3 separate regions of the Homo sapiens genome follow, and all the other regions are linked to region 3. The links are contacts of gene promoters, found by promoter capture Hi-C in blood cells and fetal thymus (Javierre and others, 2016). All regions are on one chromosome and are shown on one strand. The core of a region is centred on a gene start or on the middle of the fragment in contact, and the rest is flanking DNA. Distances in the headings are between cores, read along the strand shown. Region 1 overlaps RCL1 (RNA terminal phosphate cyclase like 1). Region 2 holds the start of LOC124902113 (a long non-coding RNA gene). Region 3 holds the start of CD274 (CD274 molecule).

Evidence for each region. The method cuts DNA at HindIII sites, captures the fragments that hold promoters and counts their contacts. A CHiCAGO score of 5 or more calls a contact.
Region 1: a fragment that was not itself captured here is called in contact with the fragment with the promoter of CD274 in region 3 in 1 of 17 cell types (erythroblasts); the score reaches 5.5 in erythroblasts.
Region 2: a contact is called between a fragment that was not itself captured here and the fragment with the promoter of CD274 in region 3, in 1 of 17 cell types (erythroblasts). The highest score is 5.8, in erythroblasts.

The regions. Positions count from the first base shown.
Region 1 is chr9:4,822,122-4,826,519 of GRCh38, reverse strand. It overlaps RCL1 (RNA terminal phosphate cyclase like 1), which reads right to left. Exons shown (of 9, transcript NM_005772.5): 2 at 2,901-2,972. Among named protein-coding and RNA genes, the nearest start is that of MIR101-2, 26 kb to the left of the region's middle. The HindIII fragment of the contact is 1,048 bases long and covers 777-1,824 here.
Region 2 is chr9:4,849,423-4,853,859 of GRCh38, reverse strand. RCL1 (RNA terminal phosphate cyclase like 1) reads right to left here. Exons shown (of 9, transcript NM_005772.5): 8 at 4,310-4,413. LOC124902113 (a long non-coding RNA gene) reads right to left here and starts at 3,493. Exons shown (of 2, transcript XR_007061402.1): 1 at 598-3,493; 2 at 1-46. MIR101-2 (microRNA 101-2) reads right to left here and starts at 3,563; the gene lies at 3,485-3,563. The HindIII fragment of the contact is 305 bases long and covers 1,218-1,522 here.
Region 3 is chr9:5,449,292-5,453,834 of GRCh38, reverse strand. It overlaps CD274 (CD274 molecule), which reads right to left and starts at 3,293. Exons shown (of 7, transcript NM_014143.4): 1 at 3,239-3,293. RefSeq lists enhancers at 3,017-3,176, 3,467-3,516. The HindIII fragment of the contact is 3,244 bases long and covers 188-3,431 here.

The sequences.
Region 1 (4,398 bases), core at 51-2,550, 630 kb after region 3:
AGAGGGGAATTACAAATGATGTGCTTAAATCATCACACCAGCAACCAGCATCCTCTAGGGCCCCTGAAATGATATTTCTCATATACCTCATTCACCAAACATGATGCCAAGAAAAGGCAAGTACTTTATGGCATTCAGTGCCATTAATAGTAGGTCTTTTAATTTAATATTGATACAGGGACATGCCTAATATTATTTTACGGCTTTAGTGGAAACTACTATCTTTATTCACTTCTCACATAATCGTATCATTCAAAAAGCTTTGTTTTGTTTTGAGACAGGGTCTTGCTCTGTCCCCCAAGCTGGAGTACAGCGGCATGATCACAGCTTGCTGCAGCTCAACCTCCAGAGCCAAGCAATCCTCCCATCTCAGCCTCCAGAATAGCTGGGACCACGACCAGCTAATTTTTTTTTTCTTTTTCTTTCTTTCTTTCTTTCTTTTTTTTCTTTATTTTAGAGAAAGGGTCTCACTATGTTGTCCAGGATAGTCTTGAACTCTTGGGCTCAAGTGATCCTCCCACCTCAGCCTCCCAAAGTGCTGAGACCCTAGGCACATGCTACCACACTCAGCTAATCATTTTTTTTTTTTGAGAAAGGGTCTCACTATATTGCCCAGGCTAGTCTGAAACTCCTAGGCTCAGCTTCCCAAAGTGCTGGGATTACAGACATGAACCACCTTGTGCCTGGCTATCCAAAAAGCTTCTTACTCCCATCTCATCTTCCCAAAGTGCTGGGATTACAGGCATGAACCACCATGCCTGGCTCTCCAAAAAGCTTCTTACTAGATTTACATATCAATGTAAAAAACTGTAAATGACATAGGGGGACATAAATGGTTGAACAAGGTATTTCTGCTGCACAAAATCTTTTGCAATGCCCTCTGGCACAATTTACCAAAAATATATTTAACATTAGAGGAAGGAGGCATGTTCAGTCACTCAAATGGGAAAAAGTTCTTGGGACTTTCATAAAATAAATGTAGGTTTTACTACATTAAACACTAGAATCCAAACAATCACAATCAGGACCATATTCTGATCAAAGTAATGAACACTTCTCAAATGGACTCTGGGTCAGTTATCTGAAATAGTTGTAAGGGCCACAAAACCATCCTTTAGATCAAAAAACCATAAAAAGACTATATATTCACTAAATGCTTCAAATCCGTATGTTTATTTATACAAATTAGCCAAATGAGAAACTGGCCAGATCATCAGAATGAAGGCTTTTACTACTCTGATGCGGAAAATTAAAAGGACATGTAGTGGGAGCAGAATCATGTAAATGTCTTACTCCTCAATCTACATTGCCAGTATGACTAGAAAAGAATAGACTTGGGCCACGCACTGTGGCTCATGCCTGTAATCCCAACACTTTGGAAGGCTGAGGTGGATGGATCACCCGACAGATCACCCTGTCTCTACTAAAAAAAAAAAAAAAATGAGCCAGGTATGGCAGCAGGCAACTGTAATCCCAGCTACTGGGGAGGCTAAGGCAGGAGAATCGTTTGAACCCGGGAGGCAGAAGTCGCCATGTGCCAAGATCGCACCACTGCACTCCAGCCTAGTTGACGGAACAAGACTCCGTCTCACACAGACACAAAAAAAGAATAGAATTATCCGTCTTCTGGATCACCAATGAAAGTTACTGAAAAAACCTCCAGCAATTTCAAAGCAAACAAGCTAAAGGAAATTAAGGGACTCATAGCTGGCAAAAGACATGTGAGTATCTCATTCCCGAAACCTGTTCTCCATAAGATATGGCTGAATGCAGCTATAGATCAGAATATCTCATGTGGTATAGGACCACATATGAACCCAAGCTTGCCTTAAGAGAGCCAAGATAGGGAAAAGGTCAGAGATTTATTTGTGGAATGTGTGCGGAAAGGTAGAGAGTTAATGGAGTCAGCCAACGGATGTTTGCCACAGTTTTCCATACAATGTAGACACAAGTTTCTAATAGAAAAAATAAAAGCTAGAAACAACCTAAATGTTTATCAATGGGGAGCAGTTAAATAAATTATCATGCATCAATACACTGGAATACTATACTACAACCCACAGAAATATTAAGGAAGACCTGCATGTGCTGGAAGGGAAAGTTCTCTGAGACATTTGTACTAGCAAAAAAAAAAAAAAAAAAAAATGCTGGCTGAAGAACAATATGAAGAGCATGATGTTGCTGATGGTCTGAATTATGCAAATGTCCATGTAAGCAAATGCTGTGACAGTGGCTACCCCTGGAGAGGGGAATGGAAGAGGAAAGAGGTGAAGGGATGTTCACATCTTTTGCATATACTTGTGTAAACTTATTTTAACAAACAAAATTTAAAATAAATAGAATTCAGCCCATAAACTACCTCACAGAGTTGGCTGAAATAATTTAATGTGATAATATAAGTAAATGGACTTTGGAAAGTTTCATGTAAACATTATGTATAAAATATTTATTGTTAAAAAAAGAGGAGAGACTTTGCTGAAATTTTCAGTCTTCTAACTTCCTTAAATCAAATGTACGCCCTTCAAATTGGGAGACTTCATGTATGTCTCTGGAAAATCATATCACAGAGAGGTAACTGGGTCTTTCCATCGGAACACGGTATTTTTTAAAATGATCTAGAATGATATGCTTTTATTATGATCTACACTCACAGCTTCCTCATATAACTCCAAAGTTATATGGTGAGTTCCTCATATAAGTCCCCCCAAAATTCTAATTTAATGGTGATTTATATAATACAAAGTGATTAGTAAAGCTTTAAACATAATATTTATACCATTAAAAAGAGTGATTTGGATAAGCAGAGACTGACTAGAAAAAAAAAGGAAAGAAAAAAAAGAGTGAGAAACAGGAATGCTTTAGTGCATGGAGGTGCTTTTAGGAATCTAAAAGGAGCTTACCTGTTTGGTTTATTTCAATTCGAGAACCATTCGTTATTTTGTCCAATAGCCTTATGAAGCTGGCTTCAAAATCTGTGAAGAAAAAAAATCTGTGAAGAAAAGAGAAGACAGACTGTCCTCATGTCAGGTCAACATTTCCAGAGCACATGCCTGATTCAGGTACTGTGGTAGAGGGCAGGTTACTTCCTGCATCACACCTGGGCTTTCCTAAAGGACTGGGTAGGTTCACAGGTTGAGGAACCTGACGCAGTTGAAAAGCACTGACTGGTACATATATGTTTAGTAGAACTTAGAAACAATTCAGCTTTCACATTGTAAAAAAAAAAAAAAAAAAAAAATAGCTCCACCAGCAATCTAATGGGATATTACTTTCAGCAGCATAAAACCCTTAAGACCTATTCTTCTGAACTCAGGAGGACATGCCAAATAACGGAGAAACAGTAGAAAGTAGGGAACAATTTTAAAGTCAGATTCTTCCCTGCTCCAGAATGCCTGGAAGGAAAGATTAAATTGAGGACCACCCTTCAGTCTCAGAGACAGTAAGAGATCACTATCTCTGCCTTTCAGCAAAGTATCCCTCCCTTTTCCCATCCTCTACCATCCTACTGATTTCAACTATCTAACCAGTTCAGTTTTTTATTTTACTAAAAGGGTGTTTGAATGTACAGTATTACTGCCTTCTTTTTTTAATGCATGAGAAAATACTGGAAGAAAAAAGGCGAAATGTTAATAAATGTTTTTATCTTAATGATTGGATTTTATATAAATTTAATTTTATATTAAAAGTTTATTTATTTATTTTTAAGAGACAGGGTTTGTTGCCCAAACTGGAGTATAGTGGCGTGATCACGTCTCACTGTAACCTGGAACTCCTGGCCTCAAAGGATCCTCCTGCCTCAGCCTCCCAAGTAGCTGGGACCACAGACGTGCACCACTACACCCAGCTAATTTCTTATTTTATTTTTGTAGAGATAGGGTCTCGTTATATTCACCAGGCTGGTCTTGAACTCCTGACCTCAAACAATCCTCCCACCTCAGCCTCCCAAAGTGCTGGGATTACAGTCGTGAGCCACCAAGCCTGGGCAAAAGCTGGTCATTGTTTAAAAGAGAAAGAGAGGGGGAGAGGAAAAAAGAAGGGGAAAGGAAGAGAATAGATTTTAAATGTAAGATTATGGGAGGAGAAGTGAAGACTCCTCCAGTCTTCCTTCCCCTGAGCTAATCTTACACACAAACACACCCCTTAGTTTTAACTTCCTGCCCATGAACAAGGACAGAAAGACTAACTCTTCTGCCACTGAAGGCACTGTGACTGCCTGACACTTTTAGACAATTCCCACTCCTGTAATAAACCAGCAGAGTTTATGGACACAGTCCAGTAGTCACCTAAACTGATCCCAAAGGGTGAGTGGATCAACTAAGCAATTCCCATCTACCTAGTCTGTTACATAACACTGTCCCATAACTCTTGTCATAATGGATTCTGCAATTTGTACAAAGG
Region 2 (4,437 bases), core at 121-2,620, 600 kb after region 3:
CCTCTAGCTCCTCAGCACTTCCACAGTCATGGAAAAAGGTCATTAACTAAAGTTAGAAAAAAAAAAGTCACGGTTTATTTTAGATTTCCAACTAAAGATAGAAAGAGATCATTTTACAGCAGAATTTGAAACGAGGACTTTGCTGAAAAGATGTAGCATGGCATCCTGCCTCAGGCAAGGTGCTTGGAGTCCAGCGATATGGATGGAATCCCAGCTCTTACATAAGAGCACAATGGGTTGGCCGGGCACGGTGGCTCACGTCTGTAATCCCAGCACTTTGGGAGGCCGAAGCATGTGGATCACCAGGTCAGGAGATCGAGATCATCCTGGCTAACACGATGAAACCCCGTCTCTACTAAAAATACAAAAAATTAGCCGGGCATGGTGGCGGGCGCCTGTAGTCCCAGCTACTCAGGAGGCTGAGGCAGGAGAATGGCACGAACCTGGGAGGTAGAGCTTGCAGTGAGCTGAGATCGCGCCACTGCACTCAGCCTGGGCGACAGAGGAGACTCCGTCTCAAAAAAAAAAAAAAAAAGAGCACAGTGGGTAAGGGAAGCAGTGACTGGAGGAGACTGTCCAGGTCTGAACCCCACTTACTGTCTGTGTGACCCTGGGCACGTAACTTGACCTCGCTGTGCCTCAATCCCATCACCTGTAAGACGGTGCACATGATAGTACTTGCCTTTTTTGCCCTTATGAAGTTATGATGAAAACCAGATAAGTTATTATGTCTGAGTGCTTAAAACAACATCTTGCACACAGTAAACACGGTGTTGTTTAAATAAACATCTACCTTACAGAATTCTTAGGATCAATAAGATGTGTGTAGTTTGCTCAGTAATGTGACTAGGGGAAGTCAGTCATAAAAATAATAACTAGAAATTAAAATTTTTTAATCCATAATTTAAAATTAATGGATATAGATTTATAGGTAGCTGGGCAGACCACTTACAGATGACTTAAACCCTAAAATCACCCAAAGCAAGTTTACTAGGCCTCCTGGGGTTCAAAGTGACCTGACCGGGCTACTCTAGCCACACTGCCTCTGGGGTAGTCCTGCTCCTCAAGGAGCAGTTAAAAAAAAAAAAAAGTGACCTGACCAAGGGACTGGACTGCAGCAGGGTGAAGGGGTGTCCAGGCAGGAACCACAGCACCCAGCACTGACAGCTCCTCAGGCACGTTGCCAGGAGCACTAAGCATCTGACTTAATCTAAGCTTCGTTCCATCTCCACAAGTCCAGGACTTCAGGACCACGCACCTTATCTACAAATGACACCAAGGCTCCAAGATGCTAAATACCATTTCCACGGTCTCCTGGTAGCGCGTGGTAGAGCCTTAAGTCCAGATAGGCTGGACTCCAAGACTTGTGCACTGGCAGAATGCAGAGAGCTCTGGTAACTGCAGTCTCATTCCACAAATAATTTCTGAAAGTGCTAATTAAGATGCATCTTAATTTTTGCTATTTTTCTTGCTGTTAATCCAAAAGTATAAATCCTCCCTCCCTAAACTGTAAAATTAAGCTTGTTGAATGGAGGGTGCAACTACTGTCACTAACTGTAAGCCACCTAAAACTCAACAAATTTAACAGAAATAGAATCTTCATATACCAGTGATTATCCAACAGTATTTTATTCTACTGAAAAAAAATCTCTTGGGCCTTTCTAAAAGAGTTTCACATTGGCCGGACTTGGTGGCTCAGGCCTGCAATCCCAGCACTTTGGGAGGCCAAGGCGGGTGGACCACGAGGTCAGGAGATCGAGACCATCCTGGCTAACATGGTGAAACCCCGTCTCTACTAAAAATACAAAAAATTAGCCAGGCACGGTGGCGGGTGCCTGTAGTCCCAGCTACTCGGGAGGCTGAGGTAGGAGAATGGCGTTGAACCCGGGAGGCGGAGCTTGCAGTGGGCGGAGATTGCGCCTCTGCCCTCTAGCCTGGGCGACAGAGCGAAACTCTGTCTCAAAAAAAAAAAAAGAGTTTCACACATACAGACTTACTTTCTCAAGTAGCACAGAAAACCACCAACAGCAATCCCAATGCTCTTTACATAGACATTTAAAAAGCTGTTTTATACACACGAAAAACAGGTCCAAACTGCTTGAAGAAATGCTTTTTTTTTTTTAAACCAAGGAAGGTCTTGCTTCTGGTTTTCTTTAGAAATCTGAGGTTTCACAAAACAGGTTTCTATGACTTTAACTACACATAAAAATAAATGTGTTAGTTTGGTCTCCAAAGCTCTTGAATCCATTAGAATAAACTATTCCCCCACCATGATGGTCCTCACCGTGGATTTCATCCCTTTTTTATCCTCAACTGTACTCACAAATACAATGTTAACTTTGCCTGCTGCATCCTGCCTTTGCCCTTCATCTCTTTGTGCTGCTGGAGCTGTCCATAGTGATTAGGGGCAGAAAGAGTATGAAACAGATCCAGCTTTCTTGAAAATAGACTCCCTTACCTGTCTTTATGCTAGCTTACCAAAAAGAACGGAGGCTTCCCTTTCCCACCCTGGCAGACCCGTCTGCACAAAGCTCTGGGAGGCAGCAGAATATCTCTAAGCCCCAGCCTCAAGATACATCATCTTACAATTTGTGCTACTCCTTTAAAGCTCCATTCAGAGCAGGACACTGTTTTCACAGGAGAGGAAGTCATTTTATGCAAGTTTTCTGGAAGAAAAGACACTACAATTAATGTTTGGTGAGAAGATGTGTTGAAGAGGACACAGGAACTTTCAAAAATGTCCAGTCATATCTTGAGCATCTCTGCAAAGCTTGAAAACATCATACAGGTCCTGGAGCCAAATTGAAAAATCTCCAAAAGCAAAAGAAAAAAAGTGTCACGAAAAAAAACATATATGTATTCCATTTTCACAGAATGTTCTGCCAAACCCCATGCCCCAGGACCACACACATTCAAGACAACACCCCATACCTCATACCGTGTGTGCAAGCAGGACTTCCCCAGGCCTGAAGCAAGGGCTGGGAAACGGCAGCTACGAGCCCAGCTACAAAGCCGGTGGGGCCACAGTGGCCACACAGCTGGCAGCCGCCTCCAGTGAGCTCTCTACAGGAAGCGAGTCTCTGTACCTAGGGTGCCATTCTTCCAGCCCTCATCTCCTCTCCAAGTACTTAACTACCAAGTCTATTTTAGCATTGTTTACTACTGATGTTACCACGCCATTTAGGATTACTCAATTTTAGGTATCCTGTCCTACGAAATACTTTTACACAAGCTATCAGGAGATAATGTGGTCCTTACCAGTTTCCTGCTTATCAGTCTTCCCTCTCTGCTAACAGAATGTATTCTCTTCCATTTTCCTGTTCTAAAAAAACCTCCCACCACGAATTCCAAAAAAAAAAAAAAAAAGAAAAAAAAAAGCCTCCATAAGAATTTATTTCAAGCTCCTGGTTTTCATGCCCCCAACGCCATGGCCCAAGGGTGCATAGCCCCACCGCAGTCCTCAACCCTTTCTCAATGTGATGGCACCACCATTCTTCAGTTATCACAGTACTGTACCTTTCAGATATACAGCATCGGTACCATGATAACCGAAAAAGGACAGTTCAGTCTCATATCTACCTGAATATTCCCTGCCACCCAGCTCACCAACCTCAGATGGGCCATATGATGATCTCCAAGTATGCAAGCACGTGAAAACACACACACACAATGTCAGTACTCAAATAGGCTGTTTTCCGCAACCTCATTTACTATCAATAGGAAATGCTTCTTTCACAGTGTCATTTATAATTCAAGTCTTCTGACACTGTTCTTTTTGAAGAGTGCTTGCTTTTACACCACAGCAGTCAACTTCTGCTAACATTCAACAATCCAAACTCACTTCTACAATTCCCTACTAGTCCAGTAGCATTAATACAAACTCTGTCTTTTGTCATCTTTCCCAGTGAGCTCATATCCTATCATCTTAGACAAAAAGCCTGTTTTCCCACAGCAAGTTAGACAGCTAAGGAAAAGAATGATTAAAAAAAAACTAGTAATAAAATCCAAGCTACACCAAACCAGGAGTTTACCTCTAACCTGGAAACAAAATCTAAAGCACGAACAAAATAACTGCCCAATAGAGATCATGCAATTTCAGTTACCTGGGATTAAGGAAGGAAAGAAATGCAAAAATCCTTGTATGTAAAAATAAACACCAGGTTAAGAGTGACAACTGCTGGCTGATTTGAGGATAAACACAAGCAGGTGTTCATAGTGCAGGCTCTGTGCAGCACAACACCCTTTGTCATTTTGGGCAATGAGAAAATTACACTGGACAGAATAACGAGGTTGAAAAAGAATAACTTACGTGTAGGGAGAGAGAGGGCCTAGCAGGACTTTGGAAACATCCTGCTGTCCAAGGGTCATGAGTAGTAGCGCCAGGCTTTGGTTGGTCGAGTCTACGCATCCACCCTGTAAACACAAATTAATAATTGT
Region 3 (4,543 bases), core at 2,044-4,543:
CAGGCCAGCCTCCCACAGCAAAGACATACAGCCTAAAACGTCAACAGTGCCAGTGCTGAGAAACCTTGTCACCACTGTGAGCAAAAAACATTTCAGTGTATATCTTTCAATTTTTTTCCCTGTAATCTTTTAAAAAGTAATTTATAACCTTATCATACATTTAATACCCATTTGTTTCATTAAAGCTTATGGCATAAATATTGCCCATCTTACTGCATGGTATTCATAAGCATCTTATTTAACAGTTCCATAATATTTAATCCCTCTATTGTTAGGTATCAGATTGTTGCCAATTTTTTAAAATATCATAAGTATTTGTGTGTTCAGCAAATATTCGTTGAGTGCCTACTGTGTGCCAGGGCCCCAGGCTAGGCCCTGAGGATAGATTTTCCCAAATAGTGTTGCTGATCAAAGAAAAAGAACATTTTTCTGGTTCTCAACACATGTTGATAATTGGTACTGTTACACTGTATTTTCACCCATTGTTTAAAAAATATTATTTTTTTGCTAATTTGAAAGATCTGATCATTTTTTGGTCTGTTTATGTCACTGGTTTCTTATCAACCTGTATGAGTCCTTCATGTTAAAAGATAAAAAGGTTAAGTGAAATAACATGAGTCATCATCCTCTTGCCAGTGTTAGGTACCTATTTTTTTATTTCTTTCCTTTCCGTCTATCCTGTAGATGTGGAATAGCGATGGCATTCAGGCCTGTGAGGTCACATTTGCTAAAATGGGGCTGCAGCATCTATCAGACTATCTTTTCCTTGGGCCAGAGTTAACTGTACAGTTATAAAATATTACTTATAAAATATAAATATTACTTATAAAATATTTTATAACTGTACAGTTATAAAATATTAATGTGATATTTTATGATTATTGTATTATAAACACAAATTCACTTACTAGGCAGAAGAAAACTTAAAATACCCCTAATGCCAAGCAAAGCATTATAACCATATGGGAATAAAACAAAGGGACATTAAATCTAGTCATGGATTACAACTAATTTTGCCAATGTTTATGGCCTACTCTGGTGGAGTTCTTGTCCTTTAATGAATTTGGTTGAAATTTTTAGGAGTAATAAAGGCTTCCTGGAGGGTGATGGATTAGATCCAATATTTACTTAATTTCTTATCAAACCCTCTCTTCCACAGCTCCATTTCCTTGGGGTGCAGCTGTCATTAGTGAGGGACGAAAAGGCAGAATACAAAGATCATGTAAATACACACATGTTCTTTAACCTCTAAACCTCATATCAGGGCAGTTGGTCTAAGAGAAGAAGACTGACATCTTCTTCAGGTAAGAATTATGACCATATGTGAATTCCCATATCCGAATGGAGACATTTAAAGAGCAATGAAATGTAAACTGGGGAAGAAGTGATGGCTCATTCAGGTTGGGGAAGTGGGTTTGTCCCTGGGGGAAGCCCAGTATAACACTATGGAACTAATACTACTTCTCTATCTTCCAAGGGTAGGATGGGTAGGAGGATGAGATAGAGAAAAAGTTAAGCAGCCAGGAGCAGTGGCTCATGCCTGTAATCCCAGCACTTTGGGAGGCCGAGGCAGGCGGATCACCTGAGGTCAGGAGTTCGAGATCAGCCTGGCCAATATGGTGAAACCCCATTTCTACTAAAAATACAAAAATTAGCTGGGCGTGGTGGCAGGTGCCTGTAGTCCCAGCTACTCGGGAGGCTGAGGCAGGAGAATCACTTGAACCCGGGAGGCAGTGAGCTGAGATTGCACCACTGCACTCCAGCATGGGCAACAGAGTGAGACTCTGTCTCAAAAAAAAAAAAAAAAAGACAAAAAAAACCGGTTAAACTTCCTTTCTCAAAAGTAGGAGCAAGAGGCCTGCATGGTGGCTCCCGCCAGTAATCCCAGGACTTCTGGAGCCTGAGGAGGGAGGATCGCCTGAGGCTAGGAGTTCGAGAACAGCCTGGGCAACATAACAAGAGCCCCATCTCTACAAAAACAAAAAAAAAATTCTTAAGTAGGATCAAAGATTAAGACAGTTGATTTATTAAACCTCTACTAAGTGACCAAACTTTATTAAACTCCATGAAACCCCATGCCCAACCTCCTTCTCAGTCACACTGAGACACTCTTGTACATTTTCCACATGGGGTTTCAATTCCCCACAGTATTTCTGTGACTTCCTTGAAGACCACACTCTAACTGCTGTCATGTGGCCTCTGCCTACCTACTTTTACTGAGAAAGGCTAAGTTTTTCTTCAGAGTATCATAGTTCTCCTTAAATACTGTTGACGACTGTCATTGTCAACTGATACATCCTTTCTGGAAAGCATTTTCAGTTTTCTTCAAAAGGCCTTTAAAATATTCAGGCTCTTTGACTAAGTAGTTACACTTCTAAGTTTACTTGAAGGAAACAATCAGCAATATTCCAGAGATATATATGCAATGAGTTCAGTGAATGGCTAAGACAGAACCACTGTAAATAACCTTTATACCCAACAGTGAGGAATTAATTTCATTTAGTTACCCAATCTAATCGAATGCAGCAATGAAAACATTTTTTAGAAGGTTATTTAATTCATAGAAAAGCATCCACAGTAAATTTTTTTCAAGTATTAAAAAAAGAGGTAGAACAATGGTACTTTTACTCCTTGTGTTATAAGACAAACCCAGACTGAACTTTGACATAGGCCAAGGTCAATGTGTCTAAGAAATGTTTTATTATACTATTTTTATTCTTAGGCTCCTCCATTCCTCTTTTAGGACTCCTTTGGGTTCTCAGAATGGACAGAGCAAATAAATTCCGTTCAGGGATCCTGGACCTGCTTAGCGCAGGAAGAGACTTACTTAGATGCTGCAGCTGGGATAACTTACACAAGTCATGTTACTAGCAAGCAGCTGGCGGTGGACTTGGACCCGTGTCCAGACCTCCAGCCTAGCATCAGAGCTATATTCTGAACACACAGTCGCATAAGAATGACTACCTATCCTATACTACCTATCTTATTTATTTTTAGAGGTATAAATTATTTTTAGAGCAAAACTGAATCGCGCCTGGAGGAAGGCCAGATGCATTGCCTGTTCTTATTAACCCCAACAGGTAATTGGCTCTACTGCCCCCTAGACCATCGCGTTCCCTTTCCCTTCTCCTCTCTCCATCCCAAAGAAAGGGTGTAGAGACCCTCCGTCCTAAAGTGCCCAGCGAGCTAGCCAGAGATACTGGGCCGTGGGCACCCGCGGAGGAACAACGCTCCCTACCTGCAGGCGGACAGAAGCGCGGCTGGTGCGGAGCCTCGGGAAGCTGCGCAGAACTGGGGCCGCGCGGGACGCGCCAGCTGCTCAGCGTTGCGCCAGGCCCGGAGGCGGGGTCCCGCCCACCTCTGCCCAAGGCAGCAAATCCAGTTTGCCGGGCGTTGGACTTTCCTGACCTTCGGTGAAATCGGCGGAAGCTTTCAGTTTAGGTATCTAGTGTTGGTGTCCTAGGAATAAAGCTGTGTATAGAAATGAAACAGAAAGTGAAACATGTCAGTCCAGTTTTCTTGTAAATGAGATTTTCACCGGGAAGAGTTTCGAAGATTAAAGCAAATCCACATTTAGTATGTTATTAATAAAAAAAGAAATTTACAACAAGCCAACATCTGAACGCACCTTGATTTTACCTTCAGAGGGGTAAGAGCTTAAGGTTACCCCTTAACCTTTATCAGAAAGGCGTCCCCCTTTCTGATAAAAGCCTCTTCAAGGTGACTGAACATCTTGACATAACTTGATATAACTCTACAACATATAAAAAGTCAGCAGCAGACCCATATGGCTTTGGTTTTTATTCTAGAAAGTAGGTGTGTGTGTGTGTGTATGGGTGTATAATAGGAAATATATTTTTAAATCGTGGATTCTGTGACTTCCTCAAAGTTCCTCGACATAATGAAACTTCATTTGCTTTGTCATTAAAAGAACTTCCCATCCCGAGCTACATCTTTTAAGAATGCTCAGGGTCCCTGATATTCTGCCACCCTAAGGATTAAGGCTGCGGAAGCCTATTCTAGGTGAGGGTTAAGAAAGCCCTTTTGAAAGCTTTGGGTTAGTGAATGGGCCCAAGATGACAGACGATGGTGTCATAATTTACTTAAGTATTATCCCGCGCTGAACTTCTAGGTGCTCTCTTTTCTCGAACTCCTTGACCTCAAGTGATCCGCCAAAGTGCTGATATTACAGGCTTGAGCCACCGTGCCTGTGTGCTCCCTTTTCTTTTTTTTCTCTTTTTCTAAATTGAGAAATTGGACTCTTCGTTGTTTGCCTTTCCTTCTTATTCATTTCAACTGCAGTTCAAAATACTGCATAATGAATGAATATTGAGATAGCCCTTGCATTGGTTATGACATTTGCTTCCAAAATAAGAATTTTCACATTCTGATTGTATCACAGATTTTTATTTTTATCTGGGAAATTATTGAGGCTGACACTGCCTTGATTTGGCAGGAGCATGGAGTTCTCTTTGGCCCCAATAAAATTGCAATAGGGTTTGGGCCCAGCTCAGATGTTCCTTCTTTCAAATCACTTTTGAGG